Regions from separate parts of the Homo sapiens genome. Here regions 1, 3, 4, 5, 6 and 7 are each linked to region 2. The links are contacts of gene promoters, found by promoter capture Hi-C in blood cells and fetal thymus (Javierre and others, 2016). All regions are on one chromosome and are shown on one strand. Each heading gives the region's core, a stretch centred on a gene start or on the middle of the fragment in contact. The rest is flanking DNA. Distances are from core to core; before and after follow the strand shown.

Region 1 (2,700 bases), core at 69-2,568, 340 kb before region 2:
AAAGTGCTGGGATTACAGGCGCGAGCCAAGGAGCTTGGTACTAATTAGAGGGGTTCGGCTTTAGTAGCTATTACCATGTGACTGTTTAGTAGATATTACTGTGTGACCATAAGCAAGTCACTTCACTTTTCTGAGCCAGTTTCCTTCTCCGTAAAATAGGGGAAAAAGCTTGATGCGGTGGCTCATGCCTGTAATCCCAGCACTTTGGGAGGCCAAGGCGGGTGGATCCCTTGAGGCCAGGAGTTCCAGACCAGCGTGACCAACATAGCAAAACCCCATCTCTGCGGGATATCTAGGCAAAGATGTTGAGTAGACACTGATTTATCCATGCACTCGTTCAGCACACGTTTCTTAGAAAGGGTATTCGGTGATTGAAAGTGCAGACCAGACTCCATGGATTCAAATCTGACTCTGCCAATTTACTGGTTGTGTGCGCAAGTCACTTCACTTCTCTGTCATTATTGATGCATCTGTAAAATGGGGTTGGTAATAACAGCTCCTGCCTCTTTGGTTGTTACTGAGGGAGGGGAGGTTAATACACGTATAGACTTTGGAATAGTGCCTGCACTCAGGAAGGACTCAATAGCCATGCTATGATTGAGTGCCGACTGTATGTGCTGGGCACTGTTCTAGGTGCTGGGTCACAAGAGTGAAGGCAGCACACAAGCTCCCCACCCTCCTGGAGCTGACATTTCAGCTGGAGAGAATAATAATTGAGTGAGATAAGTTTCAGGTGGTGATAACTGCTATGAAGAAAAGAACTCAGGGAGGGAGGGATAGCCCTGGGAAAAATACCTAATGTAAATGACGGGTTGATGGGTGTAGTGGGCCAGCAGGGCACATGTATAGCTACGTAATGAGCCTGCACGTTGTGCACACGTACCTTAGAACTTAAAGTATAATAATAAAAAAAAAAAAGAAAATAACTCAGAATACAAGGTGAAGAGGGGCCAGTTTAGGCAGGATGGTTCTGAGTGGAGTGAAGGAAGGAGCCGTGTAGGCCTCTGGTGGATGCAGAAGAAAGAATGAATGCAAAAGTCCTAAGGCAGGAACAAACTCTTCCTGCATGGCAGAAAAAGATAGGCAGGGGCTTGATCACAGCCATGACAAGGTATTTAGATTGTAATTCCATGTACAGTGGAAACCACAGAAGGGCTTGGAACACGAAAGTAACGTGATCTGATTTAATTTTTAAAAGGTCACCAGCTGCCATGAAGAGAACATAACACACCAACAATGGAGAGAGGTCTGGAATGGATAGAGATCTGAGGTTTTTCACCCAGTTGGAAAATGGTACAGCAGGAGTGGCTGACATGGCCCAGGGGTTGTATATAGAATCACAATGATAGGAAAAGGGCAGTTCTGCTCTTGCCTTACCGCGTGATCCTGGAGAGTGTCACCTGTCCCTCAGGTTCTCGTTTACAACAGAAGGTGGCGCCACGTGTGATAATTCAAGCATCCCTTTTAACACTCATGTAATCATGTAATGCAGCCAATAAACACTGCCACAAGGATCTGTTTTACAGTTATGCTCCTTAGAAGCATTTATGAAGCATTTCACACGAATTCTTCTAGTACTTGCTGGGAATGTCCCTGCAGGTCCTGTGCTATGCTGCCTGAACTTGGGATGCCAATTCAGCCACTGTTTTCTCCTCTGTAAGGTGGGGATGACAAAATCTGCTCTGCCCACTTCTCAGGAATGCATGAAGTATGACATTAGAGAAAGCCTGGCGAAGAAGTTTTTGTTTTTTGAGAGGGCAGCATGGAGAAGGGGTTTCTTTCTTTTCTTTTCTTTTCTTTTTTTTAGTTACTTTACATCATGGACTTTTTTTTTTTTTTTTTTTTTTTTTGAGTCAAGAGTCTCGTTCCATCACTCAGGCTGGAGCGCAGTAGCATGATCATAGTTCACTGCAGCCTCGACCTTCTGGGCTCAAGCATCCTCCCACCTCAGCCTCCTGAGTAGCTGAAACTACTGGCACATACTACCATGCCTGGCTAATTTTTAAAAACTTTTTGGAGAGACAAGTTATGTTGCCCAGGCTGGTCTCGAACTCCTGGACTCAAGCGATCCTCCACCTCGGCCCCTTGGCTGATTCTTTTGGAACTTTCTTCCTTGTGTGTAAATTTAGGTGTGTTACCTAAATTGTTACTATTTGATTTTTCAGATTTAAGACTTACCACTATGGAAAACGAGGACTTGGCTTTCTTTTCCACCTGCCTCCATGACTTTTACAAACCCTTTCTATGACTCATCCTCCCAGTGGCGTTATACTATAATGTTAATCCGATCAATATTCGATATTCAGGTTTAAATCCAGGTTCTCATTCCTGGACTTTTCCCCATACCTGTTGAGACGACACTACATACGGCTTCCTTCAAAAACTAGAAGCATCTGGGAAATGGAGAATTCTAGCATTGCTTCTCCTTCTTAGGGAGATGGTGTTATGGATAACAGAGAGTTAATAGCACAAGCTTTGGTGTCAGAAGGACTAGAGTGTAATTCCTGGCTTTGCTGGTCATGCCTGCAAGACTCAAGCCAATTGCTTTCTCTGCCAACTTTGGTTTCTTCACCTATAAAGAGGTGTGAGGTTGTGGCTGGGCACGGTGGCTCATATCTGTAATCCCAGAACTTTGGGAGGTCAAGCCGGGCGGATCACCTAAGGTCAAGAGTTCGAGACCAGCCTGATCAATATGGTGAA
Region 2 (2,700 bases), core at 26-2,525:
CCAGCTACGTGGGAGGCTGAGGCAGGAGAATAGCTTGAACCCAGGAGGCAGAGGTTGCAGTGAGTGGAGATCATGCCACTGCACTCCAGCTTGGGTAACAGAGTGAGACTCTGTCTCAAAAAAAAAAAAAAGAGAGAAAAGAAACTATCAAAAACCTACAGAAAAGCAGTAGTTGAGTTTGTTAAGAACTAATGAAAAGCACCAAACACCTACATCTTTGTCCCTCTAACCCACACAGGCCATTCTTGGACTGTATGAAGTCTAGCTGGCAGAACCCAAGAGAAGTTGCTATGTATGACTCAAATAGTCTGCCCACATATACCTCCTTTATTTCTTTTTTCTCCATTTCTTTTTTTCTTTATCTGTCCTGGTCATGCCTTTGGTTAGCTGTGATACCTAATGGTGTCCACTGGCACTGCTTAGTCCTATGGGCAGGTACAAGGTAAAACCTCCTTAATAGGATCAAAAAGTTTGGAGCCAGGAAGTCGCCCTTATGGTTAGAAGGCTGATGTTGGCTCATGGAGATAATTAACATTTGATGATGACCTCATATGTGCCTAATATGCTTTTTTTTTTTTTTTTTTTTTTTTTTTTGAGACAGAGTCTCCCTCTGTCCCCCAGGCTGGAATGCAGTGGCGCGATCTCGGCATAATTAACATTTGATGATGACCTAACATGTGCCTAATGTGCTTTTTTTTTTTTTTTTTTTGAGACAGTCTCCCTCTGTCGCCCAGGCTGGAGTGCAGTGGCGTGATCTCGGCTCACTGCAACCTCCGCCTCCTGGGTTCAAGAGACTCTCCTGCCTCAGCCTCCCGAGTAGCTGGGATTACAGGTGCCCACCACCACGCCCGGCTAATTTTTATATTTTTAGTAGAGACGGGGTTTCGCCATGTTGGCCAGGCTGGTCTCGAACTCCTGATGGCAAGTGATCCTCCCGCCTCGGCCTCCCAAAGTGCTGGGATTACAGGCGTGAGCCACCGCCCCTGGCCGAGCATATTAAAATCTAGTTTTCAAAAACTGAACTGCAGGCGCCGCTGTACCAAACGCTTCCCTCTGCTCCCCAACCCCAGCCTACAGAAAACTGGTCCCTTCCTCCTACCCCGCAGTCATCCCCAGGCCTTGGCCCAGCGGGAAACATCCCTTGACTGAACCGCCACTGAACACCCACACTGCACAATCGAGGCGCAGCCCTCCCGAGAGGAAGCCCCAACGACCTCCACCTACAAGGCCTCTAAGTGTAACTGTCCTGGGCGAGGCGCGGCGGTTCGGTTCCCATGGTAACCCCGCAGCTCCAGCGTCGCGCTTCCGGGCGGACGAGCAGCGCGCTCCAGTGACGTCACGGCGCCACTTTCCGGCCGGTGACAGAGTCCAGCGGAGTTGTGGGGGCCGGGGGCGCCATGGGAGCCACTGGCGACGCCGAGCAGCCGCGGGGACCTAGCGGGGCCGAGAGGGGCGGCTTGGAGCTGGGGGATGCGGGCGCAGCGGGGCAGCTGGTTCTTACGGTGAGGGCGCCCCCGGTGAGGTCTGGGCTCAGGCCGGGCACGGCCTCGGGGCTCCTGGGACCCTGGCCCGCGGGCGAGAGAACGCGGAGGCTGGAGCTGCAGAGGGGGTTGGCGTTTTCGCAGCCCGACGACCTGGATTTAAATTCTGGTGCCGCCCTCCTAGCTAGGTGACGTGGGCCATCTCTGTCAACCCCCTGAGTCCCAGGATCCTCTTCTATAAAATGGAAATGATTAGTACCTGTCTCATAAAACTTGTTGTGGGATGGGAAGATAAAGGCGGGTACAACGCCCCGGACATCACCTGACACAGAGTTGACCCTCGGTAAATACTGCTTCCCTTCCTCCTGCCGTGCCAGAAGGCAGGGTCGGGACTTTTAAGGCAGGAAACTTCCTCAGTTCCTCTTTTGTGGAGGAGGCCTTACAACTATCGTCCCACCCCAAGGCGGGAGAGATGGTGACGGATCTGAGAAGCAGGGATGTCCAGGTTTAACTTCATACCCACCCTCCACCTCCACCCCACCCCAGTGTCACAGGCCGCAGTGACATTTGTTCCGTTGGTCCCCACAGAACCCTTGGAACATAATGATAAAGCACCGGCAGGTGCAGCGGAGGGGCCGCCGCTCACAGATGACAACAAGGTAAGGCTGGCCCTGCATGGGGCTTATATCCCAGCCACTGGCTTGCATGGCAGATTTGGGATCCCCAGTGCACAAGGCTATGGAGATCTACAGCCGGTAGAAAGAGCACAGGACTGAGGAAGAGGAGACTCCGATTCTGTAACTCTGTGTGATCTTGAACTAGTCAAGTCACTTCCTTCTCTGAACTCACGTACAAAATGGGGAAGGGCACAGGAGATGGGTTGTGGAATAAACAATACCTAAGATCCCTCACATTCACTGGCTCTGTGGTTGAGGGCTCTAAAGAGGTCAGTTAGCATGGAGTTTAAGAGAACAGGCTCTGGAGTCAGACAACTGTGTTCTCATCAACAGACTCTGATGAGCCCGTTTTCTCAACTATAAAGAGGGATTAATAGTATGCATGTCAGGGAAGGGAGAGAGCACAAGGTGGGCCTTTGGGATGCTGATAGTGGTGAAATGGATGTTCACTATAATTACTCATTAAAGTGTATAGACTTTTCTGTATAAGTATTATATTTCATAAAAACACTTTGGGCCGGGCGCGGTGGCTCACGCCTGTA
Region 3 (2,700 bases), core at 2-2,501, 440 kb before region 2:
ATTCCTCAAGAAGAGCCTGCAGGCAGAATCAACCTTCCGCTAAGTAAATTCAGAGGAACAGGAGCCCCAAGGCTTTCAAAGAAATTAACATTAATGGTTAAACTGCAAGGACTCACTCGCTCTGAAAACTGGGGCTAAAGGGCACAAAGGGGGCACAAAGCTCAGGCTGTGGGGGACAGATTGCCTTCACCAGTAATTCCCATGCCCCCCAACTTCCCAGATGAGATTGCCCCCCTCCTCCTAAGCCGGCTGCGGGCATGGATAGAGCTTCTGCTGGCCCAGGGACAGCTATGACGGAGGCCAGTGGACAGTGAGAAGGAAAGGTTTCCCTGGGCTGATTGAGGCCTTCTCTCCCCCCTACCCCCTTCACCTCACTCAAGGTGGATGCTTCAATTTTCTTATCTGCAATTGAGAAAAAATGAACACACTTCTTGCAGAAAGCAGAGGCTCAGCTCCTGGCTAAGTGTTGAGTCTAAACCATTCCTCTCCTCTGTCCTCGAAAAGAGCAGAGTCCCCAACTTTCTAGAAACCCTAACGCAGTGTCCCCTCTTGCCCCATTCCCTCAGACCCTTGGTGCAGTATTGGGAAGAGATTCAGAAGGGCAGGACTTTGCCCTAAGTCACAAGTCAATGACAGAGCTGGGGCCAGAACTGAGGTTAGGGCTCAGTTCTCCTTGGTGTGTGAAAGAGGGCCTCGCACAACCCTAAAACCCTCCCCCTTCCGAGTACACGCAGCCCCCCGACCCCCAGGGCCATCTCGGATCCTAAAGCTGTCTGCTCTGGGCGCCCCGAGAGCGAGGAGGGGATTCAGCGCTCCAAGCCTGCCCCAGGGTCACCAGGGAAGGGACGAGGGTGTGGGAGTTGAAGAGTTGACACCGGCTTAGTCACTAACGAGCCCGTAGCCCGCGGCGGGGCTGAGGCCCGGGGAGGCGGGAAGAGCAACAGGCGAGGGGCGCACGGCGCGTGAAGCCATCCCGGAGGCTGGCCCGTGACCCCGGAGCAAAGTTTCCAACAAAGTTTCCCGGGCCTCGGTGTCCGGTTGGGGGTAGCGTACCCCCGATCTGCCCCCCCCCATCCCACGCTCCGACGAACAAAGGAGGCACCGGCCTGCGCCCCCGCTTCGCCCCCAGCCCGGGAACCTCCAAGCACCCACCGACTCGGCGACTCCGCCTACGAAGAACAGCAGCAGCGCGAACAGACGGGCGGGGGCCATGGCACCGCGGACTGGAGAAGGCGCGCAGGCTGCGGCGAGTGGCCCCGGGCGGGCGCGCCACCCATCTTATAGGCGGCCTACCGGCCCCGCCCCGGCCCGCCCCCGCCCCGCCGCCCGCACCCCGCCCGGAATTCCCCAGTGGAAGCGAGGCCTGCGGGGCACTGCGCCCGCCCGCGGAGTTGGAAACCCCAAGGGACCCGCCCTGCCCGAGCCCGCCGGCTCCTACTCAACCCCTAGTCCTACCCTCCGGGAGCTCCAACTCCCTTTATTTATTTGACCCACTGCCAGGCAGGTCCCCAGAGATCACTGCGGCTAACCCCATTTTATAGTTGGGGAAACTAAGGCCCAGGGACGGGAAGGACTTCCCTAGGGTGTTGAGTTTAGACCAGCCTTCATACCGGGTGTGCTCCCCTCTGAAGACACAGAACTTCCCAAATGGGATGTGAACCGTGTTAAGACAGGGGACAGCAAACTATTCTGTAAAGGGCTAAATATTTTAGGTTTTGCGGGCCATACGATCCCTGTGGCAACTATTCAAACTCGAGCGTCGTAGCTCAAAAGCAGCCATAAATACTAAAGGAATGAGGGCAGCTAGGTCCTAATAAAACATTATTTATAGACACCGACATTTGAATTTAATATAATTTTCATGTGTCACGAAATATTATTATTCTTTTGACTTTATTCCCAACCATTTAAACATGCAAAAATCGGCTGGGCTCTATGGCTCACGCCTGTAATCCCAGCACTTTGGGAGGCCGAGGAATAGGAGGATCCCTTGAGCCCAGGAATTGGAGACCAGCCTGGGCAACCATAATGAGACCCCCATCTCTACAAAAAGTTTTTAAAGAAATTAACCAGGCATTGTGGTGCACCCCTGTGGCCCAGCTACTCTGGAGGCTGAGGTGGGAGGACTGCTTGAGCCAGAGAGGTGAAAGTTGCAGTGAGCCATGATCGCTCACTGCACTCCAGCCTGGGTGACCGAGTGAGACCCTGTCTCAAAAATAAATAAATAAATAAATAAATAAATAAATAAATAAATAAATGACATTTTATAATAAAAATGCAGGCCGGATGCAGTGAGTCATGCCTGTAATCCCAGCACTTTGGGAGGCTGAGGCGGCGGATCACTTGAGCTCAGGAGTTTGAGACCAGCCTGGCCAACATGCTGAAACCCCGTCTCTACAAAATACAAAAATTATCCAGGCATGGTTGCCTGCGCCTGTAATCCCAACTGCTCTGGAGGCTGAGGCAGGAGAATCGTTTGAACCCGAGGGGCGGAGGTTGCAGTGAACTGAGATCTCCCCACTGCACTCCAGCCTGGGCAACAGAGCAAAACTCCGTCTCAAAAAAATAAAAAATAAAAATGCAAAAACCATTCTTAGCAGTGGGCTGAACAAAAATAGGCGGTGGGCCTCAGCCACTCTGAGACCACTCTGACGCTGGTCTCAGAGTGGCTGACGTCTGTTCTAAGGGCTTCATCTACCA
Region 4 (2,796 bases), core at 168-2,667, 420 kb before region 2:
GGGTTGAGGTCTTCAGATTGAGGGTGGACCTGCCATGTCACCCTGGAGCAGTAGAGATGCAGTACCAGCTCCCCCTCCTGATCCGGTGCCTTCTGTGATCTGTGACCAAGGCAGGACACATTTGGAGGCCCAGCTGACATCCACTTTTTGACACCAGCCACAGTGCAATCAGTTTTTGACAATCAATTTTTGACAATCAGGTCGCAATGCACGCGCATGACCTACAGGGTGCTGGGGCTATTCCGCCTGCCTCGTGACTTCTGAGCAGGCTCTCATTTCGCCTTTTCCCTTTCTTGGGAAAATGGAATGGGGAGCAACCAGGAGCCCTTGCTCCTGCCACTTTCTAGCTGAGTGAGCCTGGGCAAGTTACTTGCTGCCTCCGCGCCGCGGTTTCCTCTTGCGAGCTCGCGGGGCGATTGTGAGGCACTTTGCACCCAGGAAGCACACGAGCGCCCTGACTTCACAGAGCGCGCCACTCAGGAGACTAGCTCGCGGAGGTGGGGGAGGGGTGCTGCTCGCTGGCTTCTTTGGTTCTAGACTGACCTTAGGGGCCTCGGGGTGGGGGTGGGGGAAGCCTGAAGTCGCGACACAGGCTCCCTCTACCGAAGGCCTCTTTCCTTCATCCTTCCCAGCCCCAGACAAACAGGCAGAGTAAGCAGTATTCGTCTTAGGTGCCATATGGAAGATCTTATTTGTAGACTCGTGAATTTCGCCACCCATTCCTCCCCTTCAGCTGATGGCGCGATCTCCACCCTCTGCTCGCACCTCTGGCTCTCGTCCAGGTCACATCAACCTGCCAGCAGAAACCTCGGTGTTAGGCGCTAAGACTGTCCCCAGGGGGCGCTGGTCGTTTGGGGAGCGGGCGCAGGGACAAGGGTGCTGTGGTGTCTGGTAGGTTGGAAATGCCTTTGCTAAAAAGGAAAAGCCTCCCTTTAAGCTAGACCCGGTGGGCACTCACCCCCTTCCTTTCGTGGGACTTTCATTCTCCCACGAAAGGGCTGCGGTATTTTCTTCTTTTTTTGCTAAGGAACTTTCTGCTCAGAGTAAATCTTTTTTTCCTTTCTTTTTTTTTAAGACAGGGTCTTGCTCTCTTGCCCAGGCTGGAGTGCAGTGGCGAAGTCACAGCTCACTGCAGCCTCGACTCCTGGGCTTAAGCGATCCTCCGACCTCAGCCTCCTGAGTAGCTGATACTACAAGCGCAAGGCACCACATCTGGCTAATTTTTAAATTTTTTGTAGAGACAGTGTCTCATTATGTTGCCCAGGATGGTCTTGAACTCCTGGCCTCAAGCAGTCTTCCTGCCTCGACCTCCCAAGGTGCTGGGATTACAGGCGTGAGCCACCATGCCTAGCCTGTTCAGAGTAAATCTTATTTGAGGCATGAATCAATCAAACATAAATAGAGAGTTGAATTGATCTTAGAGGGAATGGGATGCAGCAAAGCCCTACTTGACCATCTCCCCCCTCCCACATTTGGAAATCCTTAAACCCACTTATGTAGGCCTCTGACTGTGAGATTCAGAGCCACAGCAGTTTCCACCTCTGCTAAGGCCTTCAGGCAGTGAGATGGCTCACTTCAGTGCCCCTCCTTCCACACATCTCCTAGCTGTATCCTGAGACGCCTCAACCTAGTCACTACCCTTCTGTATGATGTTGGTCTAAGGCTTCCCCCTCTCTGGACATGAAGGCGGAGCCTCCCAGCACTACCAGCCACACACCACTCAAGACTCCAGATCCTGAACCCTGACTCTGGGGCCCAGCTCTGGGCCTGGCTTGGGGCTTGCATCTCACCTAGCCTGGCAGTGTTGTTGTCACACCCACCTTGTATGGATGCCACATAGGCATTTCAAGTGATGCGGAGCAGAAGCGGGTGCAGCGGCGCTTGACCCAACGCAGGGTGGAGGATCTGCACATCACCCTGGGCGCCGGGAGGTGGATTCGTGTGGGCAGCCCCTCAAACCAGATCCACTGGTCGGCTACATCCAGCTGCTTCATGTGCCCCATGGGAGTTCTATTGCGGTAGGGCTTAATGAAGATGACTCGGGGGCCCTCGGTGAGTGGTTGCCTCCCCTGGACTCCAGGGTTCAAGCTATCATCCCTCGATGTCCTTGGAACCTCAGGCTCTATATGCTTTTCTTTCCGTGGCATTGCCGCCAATGACGTTTTCTCCTTGTTCCTCATCCCTGACTGCACCTGGGACTTCCACTCCTTGTACTCTTTTTTCTTAGGGTCCCCTGTGGACTCTAATTTCTTGGACTTGAGTTCCTTCTCGGAGCACCCGATCTCCTGGAACTCTTCATTATTTTGTTTTGTTTTATTGCAGGCACTGTTTTCCCTGGCAGGGAGAGGAAAGGCAGTCAGCACAGCAGGACCGAGGCCCTGGTTCCCGAGACAGTTGCTATGTAGCCAGCTCAGGGGAGCCTGTTAAGAAAGGCTAGAGGGGCCTGCAAAGAAACTTCTCTACTGCCCAGAGGCCTTGTGCTGGTGTGAGGAGGTGTGATGAGCACTAGCAGAGGGATGTGAGAGATTGGGAAGGTGAAAGCCATGACTAGTAGTTAAGGCCCCTAAGAATGAATATTGTCTACATCATCTGCCACTAGATTAGGGTTCTGTCTCTCTGGACTTCAGCTGGGAGGGTGAACAGTCCAGTAGTTTTTCTAAATTGTGCTCCAAGAACCTTAGGGTTCTGAGGAGGTGTCTCAATGTCACCTCCCCTGACCCACTGGGGCAGGATACCTCTCCCCAGCTCATAACAACACAATTGGGGCTTGGAAATAGATATTTGAACAGAGGTTTC
Region 5 (2,700 bases), core at 14-2,513, 500 kb before region 2:
GCACTGTATCTCGGGCTTTGCTTTGGTCTACTCCATAAACTTCCTGAAAAAGGTTTCTTTGAAAAAGTCCAAATTTGTCCCTAATAACTGAAGGGTAGAAATGTGAAATGGGCCTACTCTGGGATCAAGACCACCTGGGTTCAAACCCTAACTTGGAAGCTCTGGGCCTTGGGCAACTAACTGGCCTCTTTCAAGTTCAGTTTTCCCTCCTGTAGGTTGAGAGGTTTCAACGAGACAACACAGATGAAAGGCACAGCCTGGCCCCCAGCATGCAGGCCAGTGTTTGGTAATTGATAGTTTTCTCTCCTGTTTCACTATCCTAGGTCCAAAGAACCAGAAGAGTAGACAGTCCTTAGAGACAGCAGCTGTGCCGGCTGCAGAAATGGAGAGAGCTGTGAGCTAGAATAGAAGAAGAGAAAGGCCAAAAACCACGGAGAAACAGAGCCAGACAACACAGAGGTGAAATTCAGAAAGCGAGTCCAGCACTTGGCTGAAGTTACAGGCCCTTCCTGCCCTGCCCTTTCCCACCCAAGGCCATGCCTAGTTCATGTTACTAAGTCTAAGAAACAGCTCCAGAAGTGGCATCTCTGCTAACCACTAGGGAAGATATTGTCGTTTTTTAATGATTCAAACTCTCCAGGGAACCAAGAAGGCTGAGGGCGCTGAGTTCTCTCCACACACCTGGGCTCAGGACTCCCCCAATATCTACGTGCTTTATTCCTGATCTTAACAGGCTCTGAAAGCCACATAAACCCGTGCTTGCCTGGGTACCAAAAGACCCGGGCCCGGGGGTCTTTGTTCGGGCTCGGTGCCTTCTCCATCTAAGCTTTCTTGGCAGTGTTACTCTCCTCACACTGTTACTTGGGTTCTCACTTTCTGTTCTTGAGTTAATGGATGTTTGTTTTCCTGAATTCACGGGTCCTTTGTAAGTCTTCTATCCCATAACGTAAGATGGGGGTATAAACAAAGAAGCAAGCGCTAGCTGACCTTATGTGGGGCATGGTTAGGGAACAGGAATTCCCTGTATCCAGCAGGGTTAAGCTGGTAGGAGGAAAGGGAAATGAGAGAAAGGAATCAAGAAGTGAGAAAGGGAACCAGTACCTGTCAACACCAACACACACCTGGTAAGTAGCAGGGCTGGTCTTCAAATCCAGGACTATGGGGCCACTGCATGGGAACAGAAGCAGCTTGTAGACTTCGGTGGTGGGGCTGCCAGAGTCGGGGAATTAAGGGAGGACAGGCTCTGCAGCCCAAGTGCCAGATGCCAACGGCCTGCGAAGGCTCTAGGACCCAGCTCCAAATCAGTGCTCCCGGCGCCATCCAGTGGCCATTAGGGAGATTGCAAGAGAAAAAAGCATGAGAAAAGAAACCCCAGAGAAGCCAGTGCCTGCCAACTCCAGGGAAGAGGAAGGAAGGAGCCTGGCCTTTGCCCTCAGTGCCCCCTATCAGTTGACTACCCTGCTCCAGTTTGACCTCCCCACTAGGCTTCTTCCTGGTGCAACTGATGTTTTCTCTCTGTGTGACCTTGGGCAGGCAACTCTGGCCTCTAGGCCTCAGTTTCCCCAACTGTAAAATGAATGGTAAGGCAAGGTGAGGTCACATGCCAAGTCCATAGGTCTTTAGCTCATCTGATCCTCATGGCCAGGTAAGATGATCATTCCCATCCCCCCATACTCCAGTCCCTCCTGACCACGCATAGTTCAAGCTTCACTCACCTGTAAAGTCTTCCATGGCCTCCTGCGGAAATTCCAGCCACCGTTTAAGGATCACCTCTCCAGGATTTCTCCCTCCTCTCATCTGAAGTTCCCTCTTTCTGCAACAGTCAGGTGGACCTCAGCCCTTCTAGCCCGGAGCTTCCTCAGCTCAAGAGTTTTTCTCAATCATCAGTTTCTCCCTCTTCACCAAGCCTAGCAAGGTGCCCGGCACAGAGTACTTAAGAGCAGCTGCTCTGAAGTCAGTCAGCCTGGCTTCAAGCCCCATGTGGTAGGCAGAATGGCCTTCCCCACAAAGATGTACACATTTTAATCCCCGGCACCTGTGATTTCACCTCACACGACAAAAGGGACTTTGCAGATGTGGTTAAGATAGAGAGCTTGAGGCTGGGCGCGGTGGCTCACGCCTGTAATCCCAACACTTTGGGAGGCTGAGGCAGGCGGATCACCTGAGGTCGGAAGTTCAAGTCCAGCCTGACCAACATGGAGAAACTCTGTTTCTACTAAAAATACAAAAAATTAGCTGGGAGTGGTGGCATACACCTGTAATCCCAGCTACTCAGGAGGCTGAGGCAGGAGAATCGCTTGAACCCAGGAGGCGGAGGTTGCAGTGAGCCGAGATCGCACCATTGCACTCCAGCCTGGGCAACAAGAGCAAAAACTCCATCTCAAAAAAAAAAAAAGATAGCTTGAGATGGGATTATCTTTGATTATCAAGGTCATGCCAATATAAACAGAAGGGTCCTTATAAGACAGAGACGGGAAGGTCAGAGTCAGAGAAAGAGATGTGCTGATGGAAACTGAGTCTGAAGTGATGTAGGGCCATGACCCAAGGAATTCAGGTAGCCTCTAGAAGCTGGAAAAGGCCAGGAAACAAAAGCCTCTAGAAGGAATAAAGCCTTGCCAACACATCTTAGACTTCTGACCTAAAAACTGTAAGGTAATAAATGTGTGTTGCTAGCCACTCAATTTGTGGTAACTTATTAGA
Region 6 (2,742 bases), core at 176-2,675, 460 kb before region 2:
CATTTACAGAAACATCTCAAGGTGCAGGTGGTTCTAGTTCCTTCCCCCATTTCCTGGCAGAGAGACCGGCTGTGAAAGGAAGGGAGGAAGGCCACTGGGGGAGGACCTCCAGCCAGGACTCCACACAACATCCGTTAGCCCCCTGGCTTCAGAGGAGCTCTGGATGAGGCATGGTCAGTATGGGCTTGAGGGCGGACCTAGATTCTTAACTGGAAGTTTAAGAAGTGATCCAATCCCAGTCTTGCCTTCAGAAAGGCCAAGTTGAATCCATTTTTCTGCCAGGGCAACTGAGGCCCAAAGCTCAAGAAGAACCTGGCAGAACAGTAGAAGACAATGTCTCTTCTGAACACTTCAAAGGTAATCAGAGCTGGAGATACTGACAAGTCAGTATTAGGTTGACCTCACCCTACCCTAATGTCCACCCTTCAAAATCCCCTGGCTTCCCTCCCCGCTAAAGTCCAAGCCAGTGCCCACAAGCAAGCTTCACGCGTAGAACTCATTGGTGGGGGCTTTCTTGTAGATGGGTTTCTTGCCCAGGTCATAGCTGCCTTCATCCTTCTTCTTCATACGGTACATGAGCAGTAGGATCAGGAAGACGGCAAAGAGGATGCCCACGATGCCACCCACAATCAGAGCTGGAGAGGAGGAGAGAGAAGAGGCGGGGGTGAGAGCTCCTCATCAGGACCTAAGGATGAACCCCTCTTTCCCCCACTGTCAGTTCTCTTACAACCAGACATCCTCACCATCACCACTGCCTGTGCCAGGCAAGCTGATGCCTTATTTAAGTTGACCTCATGACCCCAGTTATAAGAAGTGGGTCGTTGGCATTTTAAGTCACTGAAGACCACAGGGCTAGTGGTAAGGCCACTCCTTTTTCTTTTTGAGACGAAGTCTCACTCTGTTGCCCGAGCTGAGTGCAGTGGCGTGATCTCGGCTTACTGCAACCTCCACCTCCCAGGTTCAAGCAATTCTCCTGCCTCAGCCTCCTGAGTAGCTGGGATTATAGGCACGTGCCACCATGCCCGGCTAATTTTTGTATTTTTAGTAGAGATAGGGTTTCACTATGTTGGCCAGGCTGGTCTTGAACTCCTGACCTTGCCCATCTCGGCCTCCCAAAGTGCTGGGATTACAGGCGTGAGCCACCGCACTCGGCCAAGGCCACTATTTTAACCCACATCTGCCTGAATCTAAAGCCTAGGCTCTTTCCAAACACCACGCGGACTCCCCTGCAACAGTCTAGCACTAACTGAACCAGGAACAGGAGAAAACCGTAGGCTATGGAAATCCCTGTAGACATATTTATCCTGCAGTCCTTAGCACAGGGCACTCTCTAGCTCTCCCTGTGTGCATATTTACCTATATAGCCTACACTTCATAGACAGGTATGTACATTCAAAGTGCACACATGCAGAACATACTAATTCCAAACTCTTATGTTACAATTACATACAGAACTCAGTAGCTAAGGCCTGGTTTCCACTCCTACCTCTCCTACTTCCTGGCTGTGTGATTTGGGGCAAGTTTCCTTCATCTCCCTACCGCAAAATGGGAAGAGCCATACCTTTCTCATACATTTGTCCTAAGGATTAAATAAATTAATCCACTCAAAGTGCTTAGAACAATGCCTAGTGCATAGCATATTCTCAAGATTCATTAACTGTAAGGGTTTAAGGTTTATATCTGTGTCCCGAACCCCCTGAATCAGGTGTGCACAACAGGAGGTGCTTAATAAATGATACTTTCAGGCTCCGAGAGGAGAACCTGCCTAGTGTTGGGCAGAGATGGGCTTCTAACAGTGAGTGGGTCTGGCCTGTCCACTCTGCCAGGTGGCCTGAATGACTCATTCCTGTTTGCTAGGGGCAGGGATGCTTCATAGAATCCCTTCTGTGGCAGATTGAGTTCCCTAATTCGGTCTTACTCGGGCTAAGAAGATTAATTTTCCATCCCTGCACACACTACAAATCTATGTACACAATGGGGACAGAGTGGCACAGAGGAGTCAAGCAAGGTTCTTTCTTGGGTAAAATCCTATGAAAAAGCAACAAAAAAGTACCCCCAGGAGGTGCCAGAGCAAGCACATGGAATATCAGGCATCAACCCCATTCTTGTCTCTATCACCTTTCCCTCTGATGACCCCAGTTCCTCCACGAGGCCCTGGGTCTGCGCTGGGATGCCCCACAGGGTCAAGTTTCAAGCACAGGCTCAGAAGCTGACTGTGGTCCTCAGTCCAAATGCCAGGTCTGCCACTTCCAGCTTTGTGACTTCGGATAAGTTCTTTAGACTGAGTTTTGTGTTGTACGGACTCAATCAGGGGCACAGGAATCATACAGCATACAGCAAGCATTTAATAAGGCTCCTGGGTGCTGATTAAAGCTTCTGGAATGGGGGATTCCACCACACCAGCTAACAATATAACTTTTCACATGAGGCTCTTAGGCTTGTATAATTCTCAAATGGAAGATTAAAGAGATAACCTGGCTTCAGTTCTTTTCTTACTATGTGGCCTAAAGCCTGGGCCTCAGTCTCCCCATGTATAAGAAGCAGGTGCTTAGATTAATCAGTGGTTTTCAAATTTTTCTTTAGAAGCAATAGCACCTTTAGTTAATTAGAGCAAAACCTTATGCAAATCCAAAGTCTTATGCAAATCTTTTTACTTCTGAAAGAAAAGTAAAAAGAACTTTGGCTCAGATACCAGGAAGCCAGGGTCAGGGCTGAGGTGGGCCCAGTCATCAGGGGCTGTGC
Region 7 (2,700 bases), core at 157-2,656, 480 kb before region 2:
AGGCAGGAGGCTAGAGAGCGCTCCAGGCCAGGAGCCCAGGAAAGGCTCTCCCTTCCCCTCCCTCCTCACCCCCCACCCTGCCTTCCCCAGGGTGGGGAAGCTTCATCTCTACCAATTCCATCAGCCCTAAAATACTCTTCTCCATCCCAAGGCCAGTATAAGTGCAGCCTTTGTGTCACAGCCACGTGTCCCTATGGCCCTGGGCTCCAATGGGCATGATGCCAGACCCACAGAGTGGAACCTGGGTGGTCCCATGGGTTCCATGCAGGCTTCGTTGAGCACCTTGCAGCCTAAATATTTAGCCTACAATTTGCAGCCAAGTCTCCTCCTTACCTAATGCTTCCTCTTCCTGACCCCACAGGGGCAGGATATAGAGCAGCCCCACCCTCCCACTCACTCTAACCCCCTGCTCACTTCATTTTACTCAACCTGAGTGCTTGGACCCTGTGCCACCTTGACCCTTCTCCCTCCTGTGGCTGGTCGACCTGCCTGCCCTACTCCCAGGTCATCCCCAGAGCACACCACCATTCTGAGGGGAGGCGTGCGCAGGTGCCTGCAGCAACAGTGTGAACAGACTGTGCGGATCCTGCATGCCAAGGTGGCCCAGAAATCATACGGAAATGAGAAGCGGTAGGTGCCTCCGCAGCCCCTCCCAGGTCTCTGCAACTGTCAGCCCTATGCACCTCCTCCATCCACCCATTGGGCCTCTTTTAGACGCAGAGCAGGCCTCAGGGCTGAGATCTCAGCTATTGGTCGACCAGGGCCTTGACCCTCAGCCACCATTAGCCCCCACTTTGGTCTATAGTTCTACAGCAGGAGATTCCCTGTGAATCTCCTGTCTCCATTCATTCACTCATTCTCCCATTGATTCACTTATTCATTCATTCAACAACTACTTACTGAGTGTTTGTCATGTATGCACCAGGCTCTGTGGGTACTGCTGGGCACTGGGCATACAGCTGAACAAGACAGAAACAGCCCCTGCTCTGTAGCCCACACTCTCACTCAAGTGTGGAAGAGACAGACAGTAAACTCCCCACAAGTCAGGAAACAAGATACTTGCAGATTATGATGAGCACTAGAAGGAAAACTGAACGAGGCCATTTGACGGAAACTGAAGGCAGGGGGGACATTAGCTAGAAAGGTCAAGGAGGTTGAGAGACCTTTTGGGAGGTAACATTGGAACTGAAACTTGAATGCTGAAATGGAGCCAGACAGGAGAATATCTGGGGAAAGCGTGCTACAATTAGAAGGAACAGAAGGGCCGGGCGCGATGGCTCACACCTGTAATCCCAGCACTTTGGGAGGCCGAGGCGGGCGGATCACCTGAGGTCAGGAGTTCGAGACCAGCCTGGCCAATACAGTGAAACCCCCTCTCTACCAAAAAATACAAAATTAGCTGGGCATGGTGGCGGGCACCTGTAATCCCAGCTGCTCAGGAGGCTGAGGCAGGATAATTGGTTGAACCCGGGAGGCGGAGGTTGCAGTGAGCCGAGATCATGCCACTGCACTCCAGCCTGGCGACAGAGCAAGACTCAGTCTCAAAAAAAAAAAGGGCAACAGAAAATGGGAAGACCTTGAGGCTGTACCAATTAGGCCTGTTTGAGGTACAAAAGAAATGACAGTGGCTGAAATCAGAGGGAGGAGTTGTAGGAAACAAGTCAGAGAGGTAAGCAGGGGTCAGATCTCAGGAGGACTTTGAATTTTAAACCAGTGGAGGATTTTAAGGAGTTAACATGATTTGACTCATGTTTTTAACAAAACACTCTGGCCAGCCTGGTGGCTCATCCCTGTAATCCCAGCACTTCGGCAGACCCAGGTGGGCAGATTGCTTGAGCCCAGAAGTTCCAGACCTGCATGGGCAACATGACAAAACCATGTCTGTACAAAAAACACAAAAATTAGATGGGTGTGGTGGCTTGTGTCTGTAGTCTCACCTACTCAGGAGGCCGAGGTGGGAGGATCAGTTGGGGAGGCAGAAGTTGCAGTGAGCCCAGACAGCCGAGATCAAGTTACTGCATTCCAGCCTGGGCAACAGAGCAAGACCCTGCCTCAAAAAAAAAAAAAAAGAAAAAGAAAAAGAAAGAAACAGGAAGGAAGGAATGAAAGAAAAAAAGAAAGAAAGAGAGAGGAAGGAAGGAAGGAAGGAGCACTCTGGCTGCTGTGCGAAATGGGAAGGAGATAGAAACAGAACTTTCTGGAAATAGACCAGTTTGAAGGCTGATGCTGTGGTCCAGGCAAAAAGTAATGGCGGCTGGGATGAAGGGCGAGGTGGTAAAAAGCCAGTGGATTCTGGATATATTATATTTTGAAGGTGGAGTGGACAGGACCTTCTGATGAGTTGAATGAGGGGTGTAAAAACAATAAGGTTTGGCTATGAATGGGGTTTACAGTCGTGAAAAAGCGTTGCGGGGAGCGGGAGGAGGAAACGAAGGTTCTGCTGGGTTTATGCTACTACCTTGCCGTGCTTACAGGAGAGCCAAGTGGAGATGGATGCACGACTCCAACACTCACTTATCTCCGCAGGTTCTTCTGCCCCCCGCCCTGTGTCTACCTCTCGGGGCCTGGCTGGAGGGTGAAGCCAGGGCAGGATCAAGGTGAGGGCGGAATCAAGGGCTGCCGGCCGCCTGCTCTGTAGGGAGGACCACGAGATTGGGCCCGAGACGGGGCGGTTCGCAGGCGCAGTCTCCCCGCGCCCTC

What was found. Contacts are between HindIII fragments. The CHiCAGO score rates a contact against its expected background, and 5 or more counts as called.
Region 1: a fragment that was not itself captured here is called in contact with the fragment with the promoter of WFDC3 in region 2 in 3 of 17 cell types (M0 macrophages, M1 macrophages and endothelial precursors); the score reaches 5.5 in M0 macrophages.
Region 3: a contact is called between the fragment with the promoter of SDC4 here and the fragment with the promoter of WFDC3 in region 2, in 16 of 17 cell types (M2 macrophages, erythroblasts, M0 macrophages and 13 more). The highest score is 18.7, in M2 macrophages.
Region 4: a fragment that was not itself captured here is called in contact with the fragment with the promoter of WFDC3 in region 2 in 13 of 17 cell types (M1 macrophages, M2 macrophages, naive CD8 T cells and 10 more); the score reaches 11.2 in M1 macrophages.
Region 5: a fragment that was not itself captured here is called in contact with the fragment with the promoter of WFDC3 in region 2 in 2 of 17 cell types (monocytes and activated CD4 T cells); the score reaches 6.1 in monocytes.
Region 6: a fragment that was not itself captured here is called in contact with the fragment with the promoter of WFDC3 in region 2 in 11 of 17 cell types (monocytes, total CD4 T cells, M0 macrophages and 8 more); the score reaches 7.8 in monocytes.
Region 7: a fragment that was not itself captured here is called in contact with the fragment with the promoter of WFDC3 in region 2 in 9 of 17 cell types (erythroblasts, activated CD4 T cells, monocytes and 6 more); the score reaches 9.1 in erythroblasts.

The regions. Positions count from the first base shown.
Region 1 is chr20:45,455,411-45,458,110 of GRCh38, forward strand. No RefSeq gene overlaps it. Among named protein-coding and RNA genes, the nearest start is that of WFDC2, 13 kb to the right of the region's middle. The HindIII fragment of the contact is 2,305 bases long and covers 167-2,471 here.
Region 2 is chr20:45,790,608-45,793,307 of GRCh38, forward strand. It overlaps WFDC3 (WAP four-disulfide core domain 3), which reads right to left and starts at 1,276. Exons shown (of 7, transcript NM_080614.2): 1 at 1,225-1,276. DNTTIP1 (deoxynucleotidyltransferase terminal interacting protein 1) reads left to right here and starts at 1,347. Exons shown (of 13, transcript NM_052951.3): 1 at 1,347-1,502; 2 at 2,070-2,140. The coding sequence starts at 1,398. RefSeq lists silencers at 1,430-1,699, 1,910-2,049. The HindIII fragment of the contact is 10,060 bases long and covers 1-2,700 here.
Region 3 is chr20:45,347,173-45,349,872 of GRCh38, forward strand. It overlaps SDC4 (syndecan 4), which reads right to left and starts at 1,252. Exons shown (of 5, transcript NM_002999.4): 1 at 1,153-1,252. The coding sequence starts at 1,212. The HindIII fragment of the contact is 6,082 bases long and covers 1-2,700 here.
Region 4 is chr20:45,373,219-45,376,014 of GRCh38, forward strand. It overlaps TP53TG5 (TP53 target 5), which reads right to left. Exons shown (of 5, transcript NM_014477.3): 4 at 1,821-2,334; 5 at 1-793. The coding sequence ends at 689. All of the region lies in intron 3 of SYS1-DBNDD2 (SYS1-DBNDD2 readthrough (NMD candidate)), which reads left to right. It also overlaps a transcript of SYS1 not described here. Among named protein-coding and RNA genes, the nearest start is that of TP53TG5, 3.7 kb to the right of the region's middle. RefSeq lists an enhancer at 125-184. The HindIII fragment of the contact is 5,473 bases long and covers 1-2,796 here.
Region 5 is chr20:45,289,753-45,292,452 of GRCh38, forward strand. LOC105372630 (a long non-coding RNA gene) reads left to right here. Exons shown (of 3, transcript XR_936763.3): 3 at 324-600. Among named protein-coding and RNA genes, the nearest start is that of RBPJL, 16 kb to the right of the region's middle. The HindIII fragment of the contact is 879 bases long and covers 825-1,703 here.
Region 6 is chr20:45,326,781-45,329,522 of GRCh38, forward strand. SDC4 (syndecan 4) reads right to left here. Exons shown (of 5, transcript NM_002999.4): 5 at 1-635. The coding sequence ends at 484. Among named protein-coding and RNA genes, the nearest start is that of MATN4, 20 kb to the left of the region's middle. The HindIII fragment of the contact is 1,892 bases long and covers 480-2,371 here.
Region 7 is chr20:45,309,063-45,311,762 of GRCh38, forward strand. RBPJL (recombination signal binding protein for immunoglobulin kappa J region like) reads left to right here. Exons shown (of 12, transcript NM_014276.4): 3 at 505-630; 4 at 2,527-2,597. Among named protein-coding and RNA genes, the nearest start is that of MATN4, 2.1 kb to the left of the region's middle. RefSeq lists a silencer at 2,561-2,610. The HindIII fragment of the contact is 2,617 bases long and covers 99-2,700 here.